4 separate regions of the Homo sapiens genome follow, and all the other regions are linked to region 2. Evidence: promoter capture Hi-C in 16 types of primary human blood cells and fetal thymus (Javierre and others, 2016). All regions are on one chromosome and are shown on one strand. The core of a region is centred on a gene start or on the middle of the fragment in contact, and the rest is flanking DNA. Distances in the headings are between cores, read along the strand shown. Region 1 holds the start of SNRPE (small nuclear ribonucleoprotein polypeptide E). Region 2 holds the start of RBBP5 (RB binding protein 5, histone lysine methyltransferase complex subunit). Region 3 has its middle 4.9 kb from the start of ZBED6. Region 4 holds the start of EIF2D (eukaryotic translation initiation factor 2D).

Region 1 (3,580 bases), core at 463-2,962, 1.3 Mb after region 2:
TGCCTCGATTCACACCGTTCCCATACTTTGGGATGCCAAAGCGGAATAATTCGCTTTGTGGCCAGGTGTTCAATATAAGCCTGCGCAACATTAAGCAAGATCTCCCCGCCCCCCGCCCCCCAAAAAATTGAAGTATACAAAACCTAACCATTTTGGTCAAACGACAAGAGAAATATGGCTCCTAAAAAAATTGTAATGAATGTAAGTCAAAAGTTTTAACTAATTAGCCCATATCTAAGAATTATTCACCAATAATAATAACCTCAAAAAGAATTTTCATTTAATAAGTTCTATATTGGAACTGTATAAGCTAATAATTTTCCTGTGATTTTGGGACTCAATATTTCTTACTGCTTCTGGTCTCAATCTATTAAGAGTGAAAGTTTTTGACAGCATAGCACAAAGCAGTAATTTCTAATGACCAAGGGCTTATCTCCTGCAGCAAAATCCAGTTCCAAAACAAAGCCTTCTCATGTCACACACCTAACAACTAGGACAGGAGCCCTCAATTCAGGTGGTTAAGAATTATTATCACCTGAAATTAATGTTTTTCAGTTGTGTTATCACACTATAAAATTTAAGTTGCTAAAATTTCCCTCAAAGGAAAGCAGCTGCCACTAAACTCCTCTGAAGCTACCCCTTCTCTCTTCCTTTTTTCGTCTTTAAGTTTTCCCACAGGTATTAAACACACCACCTCTTGACATGGTTTAAGTTGGCTGGGTTTTTCTTCCAATGTTTCATCCTAAAGGGGAGAGGTTCCAATGTTCTAGCCATAATCACTACTAACAAAACTACTGATGCCCAAATACCATGGTCAAGTCTGCTAATAATACTTTTTGGAATTAAAAAGTATTTTTGATCTTGCAAAGTAATGGATACAATTCTTTGCATGTTGGGAAGTGGCATGGATACACACCACTTCATCACATTAGTGCTTTCTAAGTACTCCTTCCCCTCAATTACCCTCCAATCTCCAGTTACATCTATTTTTAAATTCTAGAACACAGCGATCGCTCAGGTTAACACAAAAAACTAAATCAGTTCACCTCTTATTTAAAAAGTAGTTACGAAACAAGCAACTTACGTACATTTTGTAAGTATCTGAAGATGAGGTTCTGCACCACAGTGGCTAAGGAAAAAATACAAAAGCAGCATAGACTCTGCTTCCTGAAACAACCGGACGACGCTATTCCCGTCTCACCTTTGTTTACTAAACGCGAGGTCTGGTGCTTACGCAAACAACAAGTGCCCAGCTGGGCATTCGTTACGGGTCTTCTAAAGACTAAAGAACATCCATTCCACTTTCATCCCCCTGGAGTTTCCCAAAACCGTTAACTCCCGTTTTCACTCCGCACCTGAAGTTCTCTTCCCTCCTTTTGCCGCGTCCATTCCTGCATTCCCCACGGCAGGGGTCCCCCCAAGACCACCTCCCCACCATCACGGTTCAACTACCCGCGCTTTCTTCCAGTCTTGGTAGCCCCGGGGGCTCATGGGATGTGGATCCGTACTCCACTATCCCAGGCCTGCCCTCAGCCTGCGCCTTCGCACCCCGTATTCTGACCCGAACCTCCTAGTCCTGACATCCTGCGTAGGATACGATGGGCTGCACCATAACCTTCTGCACTTTCTGACCCTGGCCACGGTACGCCATGGTGGAATTTCACAAAGAGCACACCCGCACGCTGCCTCTGAGAGCAACTTCCGGAATAAAGAACCGGAAGCGGAAGTGTGAAGGTCACGCGGCGGCATGGGCGGCTCCTGGGAAATGCCCCTCTAGCCATGAAGTCACGTTTCTTCGCTGCATGGCCTCCGAGGGAGGCCAAACTGAGGCGTCTGCGCTGTGGAAGGTGGGCCGGTCCTACAGCGCCACCTGGAGGGAGGCGGGAGGAGGTGCCTTCGGTTGTATAGTGGCCGTGGTAGGAGGAGTGCCGTCCTGTCTCCAATTTCTTTTCTTTTTTTTTTTTTGAGGCGAAGTCTCGCTCTGTCGCCCAGGCTGGAGTGCAGTGGCGCGATTTCAGCTCACTGCAACCTCAGCCTCCAGGGTTCAAGCGATTCTCCTGCCTCAGCCTCCCGAGTAGCTGGGACTACAGGCGCCTGCCACCACGTCCGACTAATTTTTTGTGTTTTTAGTAGAGACGGGGTTTCACCATGTTGGCCAGGATGGTCTCGATCTCCTGACCTCATGATCCGCCCGCCTCGGCCTCCCAAAGTGCTGGGATTACAGGCGTAAGCCACCGCGCCCGGCCTGTATCTCCATTTTCTGAGTTAGCTTGAAAAGCCAAAATCGTCCCAGTGTGTATCTCTATGTGTAAAATGAGTTAATTTCGTGCCTTTCCTAAAGCCTATTTTGCTGGAGTTTAGGCTTGATAGCAGCGTTGTGGTGGAAAGGGTAGGGCGGCAAGGAGCCCAAACTTCAGGCCTCCCACCTCTGGCAGTCGGCCAGAGGCGGTCTGCATTCCAAAGCCAGACGCCTGGTTCCCTCCAGTTACGGATTCAATTCTCATCCATTTCGTGGAGAGTTACTGTTCAGGTGGCAACTGAGGGTGGCGATTTACCAGGAAGACGCTGAAATCCACATGCTGGGCGCAAATCCAGCTCTTTTAGAGTTGGTGACCAAGGATAAATTACTCAGCCTCGCCATGTCTTGGCTTAGTTTCCAAAACGGAGATTATAGTAAAGATTAACTTTACTCAGGGGCTTAAAGATTCAATGAAATAATTGTCTATGTGTGCACACAGTTAGGCGTCAGCCAGTGTCAGAACATGTCCTTCCCTGGATAACACAGCTACTAAGTGGAGCAGCTGGAATTTGTAGGTGTGCCTGACCCCAAAGTCCACCTACCTTTCCATTGTGTCATGGCTTGTGGCCTGGCAGAGATTTCACTTAATTGGCATACACATGTTATAGAGGAGGAAACTGAAGTTTAGACTTTTGAAAGGACTTGCCTAAGGGAACACGGATTAGGGCAAATGGCAGAATCAAAATTAGCTTTTCTGAGGGCTTCTGTTTAATGGGGATAATAGTAATAACGACTTCAGAAAGGGGTTGAGTTGAAAGTGATTTTTAAACTACACAAAGCGGCCAGGCTCACGCCTGTAATCCCAGCATTTTGGGAGGCCGAGGCAGGTGGATCAACTGAGGTCAGGAGTTCGAGACCAGCCTGGGCAACATGGTGAAACCTTGTCTCTACTAAAAATACAAAAATTAGCCATGCATGGTAGCACATGCCTGTAATCCCAGCTACTTGGGAGACTGAGACAGGAGAATCACTTGAACCCAGGAGGCAGAGGTTGCAGTGAGCCGAGATCATGCCACTGCACTCCAGCCTTGGTGACGGAGCGAGACTCCGTCTCAAAAAAATAAATAAGAATAAATAAATAAATAAACTACACAAAGCTGGCAAATGCATGGGATAACTATTTCCTTTAAAAAATTTCAGCCAGGGCTGGGCACAGTGGCTCATGCCTGTAAATCCCAGCACTTTGGGAGGCTGAGGCAGGCAGATCACAAGGTCAGGAGTTTGAGACCAGCCTGGCCAATATGGTGAAACCCCGTCTCTATTAAAAATACAAAAATTAGC
Region 2 (3,615 bases), core at 530-3,029:
TAGAGGAAACTAGGCTGTGGTTTTCACACGATATTTTTCCTTGTTGCTTTTGCCTTTATGCAAAGTTTTCCTTTGTCTTTGGAGAGTAGAAAAACTGTGGATTTTTTTTTTTTTGAGACAGAGTCTCACTCTGTTGTCCAGGCTGGAGTGCAATGGTGCGATCTTGGCTCACTGAAACCTCTGCCTCCCGGGTTCAAGCGATTCTCCTGCCTCAGCCTCCCGAGTAGCTGGGATAACAGGCATGAGCCACCACGCCCAACTAATTTTGTATTTTTAGTAGAGACAGTGTTTCTCCATATTGATCAGGCTGGTCTCGAACTCCCGACCTCAGGTGATCAGCCCGCCTCGGCCTCCCAAAGTGCTGGGATTACAGGCGTGAGCCACCGCACCCGGCTGCAAAAGACATACTTTATAAAGGTCCAAGGATAATGGAAATAGAAGACATTAATGTAATATGTTCTTGGGAACTAATTGGATACACCAAGTATTATCTTTGACTAGTTTCTGGACTTCTGCTTCATTCTGCAACCTGCAGCCAACTACCATGGTGTCCATCTATTATTAGGCGCTTTAAATAGCTCCTTAATTCACATTTACTCTCTTCAATCGATGTGTCAGACTGTGGGGGCCACTTAATTCCCATTCCAAATTCTTGGGAAAGGAATTTAATTGGGTTGAGCTTAGGTCAGGGGCTTACTGAAAGAGCAATCAACTGGGGCCCAGGGACAGGGTGCACTGTGTGAATGAGGCTGCTTTTTCTGCAAATTTGTCAAGTAGAGGCAGACTGGACTAGCTACATAATTTGCAGGGCCCTGGGCAACATGAAAATGCTGGGCTCCCTAGTTCAAAAGTTTCATTATTGTTTCCAAAAGTTTGCAATTGCAGACAATACTGCGATTAATAAACTTGTGTATGTGTATTTTTCCATTGTCGGAGACCTAGCCCGAGTACTATTTTCTGCAGCGAGCCTTTGACGTTGTTTCCTTTTTCTGATGAGCCACAGCATTTATAGTAGGAATTTGTTCATATAAAATTTGCTCTTTCGCTAGATACCAGTAACTGGACTTCTCTAATTGCTTTGGGTATTTCATTGGAGTTCTGTATGACTGAGCTCCGGGAAACTCAGTCCACCCCTCATTCCAATTCTTTTTCACAGTCTTTTTCACAGCGTCCCTGTCAACACTGTTTGGTAAAGGGTAAAACCTTAGATAATAAGGTTTTTATTATCTTAACACAGACAGGCCTAACATATGTTGTCGTACCTTTCTGTAGGATCAATAGCATATCTTTACAAATGAGAAATAATTTTCACGAGACCGAAACACCCTGCAACGCCACCTACATACAGGGTAAGTACGCGCCTTGGTGAGGTCAGCGGCGCTACACACCCGAGCACTAGGGGACGACCTTCCCTGGTTTCTTGCATTAGCAGGACTTGTCCGGAACCTTTCCTGCGGAGTCTGAGGTAGCCCGCCCGGACAACGCCGCTGAACACACAACAGGGCAAGAACTAGTAGGTTAACTGTATGCCTGGAATTTCTACCTCACCTACATGTTCCCGGAGCAAATAATCTTAAATTGTCGCGCTATTTAAAGTCCCTAGTGACGATAACATTGTTGTACCTCAGCAAAGATCATAATTAATTGTTTCCGAGAGAGTGTATGCTTGATTTTGGTCAGGCATATATTTGGGCAGCCCACCTGAAACGAACAAGGAAGGCGGGGGAAGAAAGCGGAAGCCGCGGGGCCTTCTAAGGCCGAAAGTCTTCGGAGCTTGCGCCAGTCTCTTCGCGGCGTCCACCACTTAGACGCAAGTTGCTGAAGCCGGCCGGGGAGAAGGTGTTGTTGCCGGAGCTGAGACCGGGCGGCCACAGTCCGCAGGGATGAACCTCGAGTTGCTGGGTGAGAAGGGCTGTGGCTGCGTTTTAGAGAAGCGTTGGGTACTGGAAAGGAGGGAACCCAGGCGGGAGGGGAGTCAGGCTGCAATCTTAGGGACACTGTTCGGCTATGGATCACTGGGCACACCTGATGTGGAGCAGCAGCGGGAGGAGGAAGCCCACCTTCTGCCCGAGTAGGTTGCATTGCCCCTCCCGAGGCCACTTTCATATCAATTATGGAGCGATGGGGACAGACAGTTTGTGACTTAGCTTTGATTATGAGGATCGCAGGTGTTGAAGTACCCAGAGCAGCCAGGACCAGAGTTGTTGGAGATGGAATTTGAAGAAGTGAGGCTTGGGATGAAGCTTTGAAGACTTGTCAGGGAATTGGGTGCCTGAACAGGTTAATCTTTTTGTAGAAAAGAGAAGTCTAAGGAGGGGACTTGGAGATCTTCTGGTAGAAGCTTCTCATTGAACAGATGAATAAAGGCTCAGAGGGTAATGGCTAGGCACTAAGCAAGTAAATGGCATAGTTGGCACTGGAATCCAATTATCCTAACTTTCTGTTTAAGGTCCTTTGCTAGGGACGGTGTGTAAAACACTGAGGTGTGAAATACGGAGGGAGTTGTCTTTTGTCGCCCTCACTTTGAGTCATTGCCTCCTTACCTCCTATCCAGATTATTTAAAAACTGTAGGTCCTTTCTCCTGGACTTCCATTAGGTGACATTTAGCATGGTATTCTAGGGGTAGCTGAGGTTTTCAAGGACTTCTGCACTACTTGCTGTTCCTAATGGTTAGGTTTCTCTTTTAAAAAAGTCAGAAGATATGTTAATTGTCAAAAGGGCTACAAAGATACATAAAAAATGGTCTTTGCCCTTAAAGAGCTTTTCATTAAGCAGGGAGTTTAAGGTGATTATGTAAAATAGCTGTAGGATATTGCAGAATGTAGGCAGGCCTGAAAGAGTCATTACCAGTTGCTAAGAATGTTTGGAACAGAGAGTGAATGTCTTTGGGGTAAAGGAAGAAGTCAACCAGGAAAAACAAACCCCCCAAACCTGTGGAGGAGTTGGAGTTTTAAGTGGACTTTTTTTTTTTTTTTTAAGACAGCCTCGCGCCGTCGCCTAGGCTGGAGTGCAGTGGCACAGTCTTGGCTCACTGCAACCTCTGTCTCCTGGGTTCGAGTGATTCTCGTGCCTCAGCCTCCTGAGTAGCTGGTACTACAGGTGCGCACTGCCATGCCTGGCTAATTTTTGTATGTTTAGCAGAGATGGGGTTTCACTGTGTTGGCCAGGCTGGTCTCAAACTCCTGGCCCCAAGCAATCCACTCACCTCAGCCTCCCAAAGTGTCCGGCCTTAAGTGGATTTTTAAGGTTGGTAAAATATCAACAGGCTGAAGTATGAAAATATGGGAGGGATGTTCAGTAGGCATCAGTGAGAGAAGACCTAAAGAATTTTCCTGCTTGGCCAGGTTGTGGATAAAGAGAATGCCAGGGGATGGGATCGGTGCCATCTATTTTGTGTTGGTTCTCGAATGCCTAGCTCAAAAGTTTGGGCTTTTTAGGGAAGGTAGGGTAGATCCATTGAAGGATTTTGACTTAGTAACTCAATCAGAGCTATGAGTTTGTAAGGTTTGTCTGACAGCAATGTGGAGTTGAGTTTTGGAGGAGTGTAAAACCAGTTTGGAGGGGTAGATTATATGAGTGATGAGGAAGGCCTGAGCTAGGAAATAGAAAAGACA
Region 3 (3,263 bases), core at 284-2,783, 1.3 Mb after region 2:
TGGGGAAAAAATGCAAAATTATTGAGACAAAATTAGGTTCAAGAGAATCTTTATTTAGACTAGAAAAGGAAATCACAACAAATTACACATTAAAAAAAAAAAAAAAACTGTGGCTGGGCACAGTGCCTCATGCCAGTAATCCCAGCACTATGGGAGGCCCAGGCCAGTGGATCACTTGAGCCCAGGAATTCAAGACCAGCCTGGGCAACATGGTAAAACCCCATGTCTACTAAAAATACAAAAATTAGCTGGATGTTGTGGCGTGCACCTGTAATCCCAGCTATTTGGGAGGCTGAGGCAGCAGAATCCCTTGAACCCGGGAGGTGGAGATTACAGTGAGCTGAGATTGTGTACCACTGCACTTCAGCCTGGGCGACAGAGTGAGACTCAGTCAAAAAAAAAAAAAAGAAAGAAAAAAAAATATATATGTATGATTATTGTCAAATTTGGTACAGCTTCTATCAAGTTTCTTAGATATATATAAGCACTAAGACTTTATTGAATTATTTAATACCCTCTTGGCCAGGCAAGAGCTACCATTTTTACTAAATCTATTATTTATTGCTATGTAAAAAATCACCCAAAAATGTAGTGGCTTAAGGAACAAACATTTGTTATTTCACGTGTCTGTGGGTCAGGAATTCAGAAGCAGTTTGGCTGGATGGTTCTGACTCAGAGTCTCTAATGAGTTTGCAATCAAGTTGGCCAGGACTGCAGTCATCTGAAGGCTTGACTGGGGCTAGAAGATACATTTCCAAGTCAACTCATATAGCTGTTAACAGGAGATGAGACCTCAGTTTCTCACTCTGAGGGCCTCTCCGTAGGGCTGCTCAGGATATAGGCAACAAGCTTCTCCCAGAGTGAATGACGAGAGAAATAGTAAAGATAGACACTATAAGCTGCAATGCCTTTTATGACCTAGCCTTGGGCATTACATACCACCATTTCTTCTGTATTCTATTGATCACACAGATTAACACTGGCATTATGTGGGAGGGGACTAAGCAAGGGCATGGTAACAGGAGCCAGGGATCATTGGGGTCTTTCTTGGAGGCTTGCTACCATGCCAGCTGTTAGTGATAACTGACTCGTCCATTTAAAATTTTAGATATGGCCAGGCACAGCGACTCATGCCTGTAATCCCAGCACTTTGGGAGGCCGAGGCGGGCAGATCACCTGATCAGGAGTTCAAGGCCAGCCTGCCAAACATGGTGAAACCCCGTCTCTACTAAAAATACAAAAATTAGCCGGGCGTAGTGGCATGCGCCTGTAATCCCAGCTACCTAGGAGGCTGAGGCAGGAGAATCGCTGGAACCCGGGAGGCAGAGGTTGCAGTGAGCCAAGATCATGCCACTGCACTCCAGCCTGAGCAACAGAGCAAGACTCCATCTGAAAAAAAAAAATAAAAAAAAAATAAAATTTTAGATGTGTGGCCAGGTGCAGTGGCTCACACCTGTATTCCCAGCACTTTGGGAGGCCAAAGCAGGTGGATCACCTGAGATCAGGAGTTCAAGACCAGCCTGGCCAACATGGTGAAACCCCCTCTCTACTAAAAATACAAAAATCAGCCAGGTGTGGTGGCATGCATCTGTAGTCCCAGCTACTTGGGAGGCTGAGGCAGGAGAATCACTCGAACCCAGGAGGCAGAGGTTGCTTGAACCCAGGAGGCAGAGGTTGCGGTAAGCCCAAGTTGCGCCACTGCACTGCAGCCTGGGCGACAGAGCGAGACTCCATCTCAAAAAAAAAAAAAATTTTAGACGTGTGAAGAATTTTCCACAGACTAGCCTCTGATGCCATATGTTTCAAACCTTGTCACCCCTCAATGATTTACATTCTTCCAGTGCCAGATGCTGTAGGGCAGGTTTAAAACAAAATGTGACCTCTGGCCCTACAACATTGGGTCATAATGCTAGATGAGTCACTACAGTGGGCAACAGGGGTATTCTTGAAAACTATTTCTAGCCCCATGAAAGTGACTGTAAATCACATAAATATAACCCAAAATAATTGCATCCCAACCCCCTTTTAGCCAGATCCCAAAATGCCCAATAAGGGGAAGGTACTAGAAAGGACAGCTGAGTGAAAAGAAACAGGGCTTTTAACCATTGTCATTAAAATCTTACTTTTGCAAGTTTTAGAATGACTGCATTGCTAAGGCCCTGTCCAGAGCCTTGAAGGGAGCTTGTGAAAGAAAGGGTACCTGAAGGTTAAGCTTCATTATTTGCATAGCAGATCGGTAGTAGGATGTGTTGACTCTCATATAATCTGGATTCAAATGCTGACCCAGCCTTCACCCTGAGGCTCTAGTCCACCCTGCGGGCTTTACAAACTGAGGGTAGCCCTGTGTCTGTACTACCCGACATGAGAGATTGGAGTGGGAGAGAAACCACCATGTGAGTAGCTAGTCCCTTCCCCCACAGTGTTCATCACCACTGTCCATCATCTTGCCTTTTTGTTGTTGTTATTGTTGTTGTTTTTGAGACAGAGTTTCACTCTTCTGCCCAGGCTGGAGTGCGATGGCGCGCTCTCAGCTCACTGCGAACTTTGCCTCGCAGGTACAAGCGATTCTCCTGCCTCAGCCTCCCGAGTAGTTGAGATTATAGGCGCCTGCCACCATGCCCAACTAATTTTTTTTGTATTTTCAGTAGAGACGGGGTTTCACCATGTTGGCCAGGCTGGTCTTGAACTCCTGACCTCAGGTGATCCGCCCACCTTGGCCTCCCAAAGTGCTGGGATTACAGGTGTGAGCCACCGCGCCCAGTCTCATCTTGCCTCTTTTTATCCCTGCCTTTGGGTCTCAGCTGTCTGACATGTGTGAGAAGATAGTGACTAACAGAGCATTCTACCGAGAAGCCTTAGACAGGAGTCACAAATAACTTACTAACTGCGGATGACACAATTTAAACTTCTTTCTCTGACTGTGGGATCTGAACTGGTATCATCAAAAATCAACACTTCTAGGCCTGCCTTCCCCTTCCAATGCTTCCAATGCATCCTTTTGCTGTTTTATTTCCTCATAAGGATTTTTTACTTGGTCCTCAAATAACATTGTTTCATTCAATGTCATTTCATTAAAATGATGATGAGGAAAAAATAAATCAATTCCAGGCCGAGTACACTGTCTGGGTGGATTTTACACATTTCACTCGTGTCTGTGTGAGTTTTCTCCAGGTACTCCAGTTTCCTCCCACATCCCAAAGATGTGCAAATTAGGTGAACTGGTATGTCTAAATGATCCCAGTCTTAGTGAGCCTGGATGTGAG
Region 4 (3,254 bases), core at 240-2,739, 1.5 Mb before region 2:
ACTTTGGGACAAATCTGGGACAACAGTGAATTCTCTATTACTGTTATTACCACCCAAGTAAACTAAAAATCCGGGATGAGAAAAATCTTACAGAAAATTCTAGCTGAGGCTTCTAGCTTATAGTACAATGAATAGACCTTAATCATAGAATGCCTTTAAGAAAAACATTTAGGCCCGACTTGGTGGTTCACACCTGTCCTGTAATCCCACCACTTTGGGAGGCCGAGGCGGACAGATCTCTTGACCTCAGGAGTTTGAGACCAGCCTGGGCAACAAGGTGAGATCCTGTCTCTACAAAAAATACAAAAATTAGCCTGGTGTGGTGGTGCCCGCCTGTAGTCCCAGCTACTCGGGAGGCTGAAGCGGATGGATCGCTTGAGCCCGGGAGGTGGAGGCTGCATTGAGCTGAGATTGCGCCACTGCACTCCAGCCTGGGTGACACAGCGAGACCCTGTCTCCAAGTAAACAAAATAAAATAAAATAAAGAAAAATATTCAAAAAGCCCTCGAGGTTTTTTTGTTTGTTTGTTTGATTTTTTTGATACGGAGTCTTACTCTGTTGTCCAAGGTGGGGTGCAGTGGCACAATCTCGGCTCACGGCAACCTCTGCCTCCTGGGCTCAAGCGATCCTACCGCCTTAGCCTCCCCAGGCATGCGCCACCACACCCGGCTGAATTTTTCTTTTTTCTTTTCTTTTTTTTTTTTTTTTGAGACGGACTTTCACTCTTGTTGCCCAGGCTGGAGTGCAATTGTGCAATCTCGGCTCACCACAACCTCTGCCTCCCGGGTTCAAGCAATTCTCCTGCCTCAGCCTCCCGAGTAGCTGGGATTACAGGCATGCTCCACCATGCCCGGCTAATTTTGTATTTTTAGTACAGACAGGGTTTCTCCATGTTGATCAGGCTGGTCTCGAACTCCCGACCTCAGGTGATCCGCCCACCTCGGCCTCCCAATTCTTTTTCTTTCTTTCTTTCTTTCTTTTTTTTTTTTTTTTTTTTTTTTTTTATTTTGTATTTTTTATGGAGATGGGGTTTCGCCATGTTGCCCAGGCTGGTCTCGAACTTCTGGGCTTAAGCGGTCCGCCCGCCTCGGCCTCCCAAAGTCTGGGATAACAGGCTTGGGCCACCGCGCCCGGCCGAAGCCTGAACTGTTTATCAGTTCAATTATTTTTGCGGAATTGAACCGAACCGAATGGAATGGGAGCTTGCAGAGAGCTTCTACTCAAAGCAGTTCCTAAGGTTGATGGGGTGGAAGGAAATAAACAGAACAGCTATTGGCGTGGCCGAGTCGCTACGGACGGGGAACCCGAGCCGCTCGCGCAGGCGCAGAGCCAGGCCCGCGAGGGGATGGGAAGGTGGGGGGGAGGGGCGTTCCCTGGGCCCTGCCCCTCCCTGCCCTGCTTTAGTTCCAGGTACCGCCACTGGGGGCGGCCGCGGCCTCCCCAGCGGCAACGGCCACGAAGCTGCGCGGCCCTGGTTTCCAGCCGGGCCCTTTTCGCGGCCGGGCCCCAGCATGGCTGCCCCCACGGCTGAGGGCCTGGCAGCTGCTGCGCCCTCGCTTTCTTGACATTCCCTGGCTTCTGTGCTCTCTTCCCCAGGCCACCCCAGCAGACATGTTTGCCAAGGCCTTTCGGGTCAAGTCCAACACGGCCATCAAGGGGTCGGACAGGTGAGGGAGGAAAGGGGCCTGCTCTGCCACGGAACAACCAGACACCTCTTGGGCCCCGCTGGCCCATAGCCCTCGCTATTCTTGGCCGACATCCTCGGGTGGAGGCCGAGGGGTATGCCAGGGAAGGGACCCCAGGAGGCAAGGGTGGGTTAGACACATTTTGAGGTGAGGATGGAGGGGGACCTGGCTCTCTTTTGGATAGTCTAGTGAGTTTAAAAGAAAACGTAGTTAAGTCAGAGTTTACTGACTGCAGACTATTTAAGGTGTTGTGGAGAATGCAGAAGTGAAGGAATACAGAATTCTTGCCCTCCAAAGAGCTTAATGCCCCTTGGGAGAGATCGGATGGGATACCAAGAATTAAAAGTATAAGAGAAAAAAATGACTAGTGATTAATTCTGGCAGGAGAGACAGCTGGAAACTGAGGTGGGAGGGAATAAGGCACATGTGGTAAGAAGAACTGTATCTGTTCAGACAGGGTCACAAATGGAGATTGTGTTTGGAATTTTGTAACCAGTGCTTTATAGTTGTCTATAGGTCTCATGGCATAGTTATTTAATCATAAACTGGCATATTTGCGAAGCATGTATGAGAAAGGAGTGGGCCCAAGGGCTAGGCATGAAGTCAGGAAGGCAGGGCTGTTTCCTGTGTCAGGCTAACTTGGATTGTTCACTGGGCCTGTTTTCCCACCCATAAAATGGGAAGGCATACCCCAGGAATGAGTGAAAATAGATGACAATGGATGAAAAAGAGTTTAGGATGTTTCAGAAGAGTGTGTGTGAGACTAGGACATCATAAACCAGGCAATCTTTCTTTGGCCCTTGTGATTTTATAGTGAGCACTTTTGAGTTCGTTCTTGATATTTATTAAAAGTCTGTCCAGGCAGCATTCACAGTGCTGGTGTGCTTTCCACAGGAGAAAGCTTCGAGCTGATGTGACAACTGCTTTCCCCACCCTTGGAACTGATCAAGTCTCTGAGTTAGTACCTGGAAAGGAGGAGCTCAACATTGTGAAGTTGTATGCTCACAAAGGGGATGCAGTGACTGTGTACGTGAGTGGTGGTAACCCCATCCTCTTTGAACTGGAGAAAAATCTGTATCCAACAGGTATGACAACAGGACGAAGATGGCCATTACCATTAGGTAGTTCTTGCCTAACATCTGCTTCTCTCTGTTTCTTCCATTGTCTCCCATAAAATAAGCAAGCACGAAATCTCCCAATACCATCCCCAAGGATCTTTATGGACCTGGTGTTCCTAGAATTGGGTCTTTCAATTCTAGGATGCAAAAGGTTTTCTCTTATGCAAAACCACTATAGGAGGGATTAAAAAAAGGGCTGACATAGTAAGTAAGGGTGGTTGCAAAGGGAAGTTCTGAGATGAAGGAACAGTGGCTGAGAAGTTTACAGTGGGTTGACTAGGAATAGAGCAGAGGTCTTGAAAAGGATGGAATTTCAGGGCATGTCTTCATGAGACAGAGTCTTGCTCTGTTGCCCAGGCTGGAGTGCAGTGGCGCAATCTCAGCTCACTGCAAGCTCCGCCTCCTGGGTTCACACCATTCTCTTGCCTCAGCCTCCCGAGTAGCAGGAACT

Evidence for each region. The method cuts DNA at HindIII sites, captures the fragments that hold promoters and counts their contacts. A CHiCAGO score of 5 or more calls a contact.
Region 1: the fragment with the promoter of SNRPE here is called in contact with the fragment with the promoter of RBBP5 in region 2 in 3 of 17 cell types (neutrophils, total CD8 T cells and non-activated CD4 T cells); the score reaches 8.0 in neutrophils.
Region 3: a fragment that was not itself captured here is called in contact with the fragment with the promoter of RBBP5 in region 2 in 1 of 17 cell types (neutrophils); the score reaches 6.2 in neutrophils.
Region 4: the fragment with the promoter of EIF2D here is called in contact with the fragment with the promoter of RBBP5 in region 2 in 3 of 17 cell types (total CD8 T cells, total CD4 T cells and neutrophils); the score reaches 8.4 in total CD8 T cells.

What each region holds. Positions count from the first base shown.
Region 1 is chr1:203,859,731-203,863,310 of GRCh38, reverse strand. It overlaps SNRPE (small nuclear ribonucleoprotein polypeptide E), which reads right to left and starts at 1,712. Exons shown (of 5, transcript NM_003094.4): 1 at 1,598-1,712; 2 at 1,089-1,115. The coding sequence starts at 1,651. RefSeq lists enhancers at 607-1,182, 1,568-1,827, 1,636-1,930. The HindIII fragment of the contact is 9,598 bases long and covers 1-3,580 here.
Region 2 is chr1:205,120,142-205,123,756 of GRCh38, reverse strand. It overlaps RBBP5 (RB binding protein 5, histone lysine methyltransferase complex subunit), which reads left to right and starts at 1,779. Exons shown (of 14, transcript NM_005057.4): 1 at 1,779-1,902. The coding sequence starts at 1,884. RefSeq lists a silencer at 802-1,096 and enhancers at 1,458-1,677, 1,818-1,997, 3,161-3,615. The HindIII fragment of the contact is 6,684 bases long and covers 1-2,245 here.
Region 3 is chr1:203,789,134-203,792,396 of GRCh38, reverse strand. No RefSeq gene overlaps it. Among named protein-coding and RNA genes, the nearest start is that of ZBED6, 4.9 kb to the left of the region's middle. RefSeq lists an enhancer at 2,117-2,286. The HindIII fragment of the contact is 1,363 bases long and covers 852-2,214 here.
Region 4 is chr1:206,610,700-206,613,953 of GRCh38, reverse strand. It overlaps EIF2D (eukaryotic translation initiation factor 2D), which reads left to right and starts at 1,489. Exons shown (of 15, transcript NM_006893.3): 1 at 1,489-1,667; 2 at 2,580-2,770. The coding sequence starts at 1,612. RefSeq lists a silencer at 1,227-1,436 and an enhancer at 1,727-1,796. The HindIII fragment of the contact is 3,738 bases long and covers 1-2,588 here.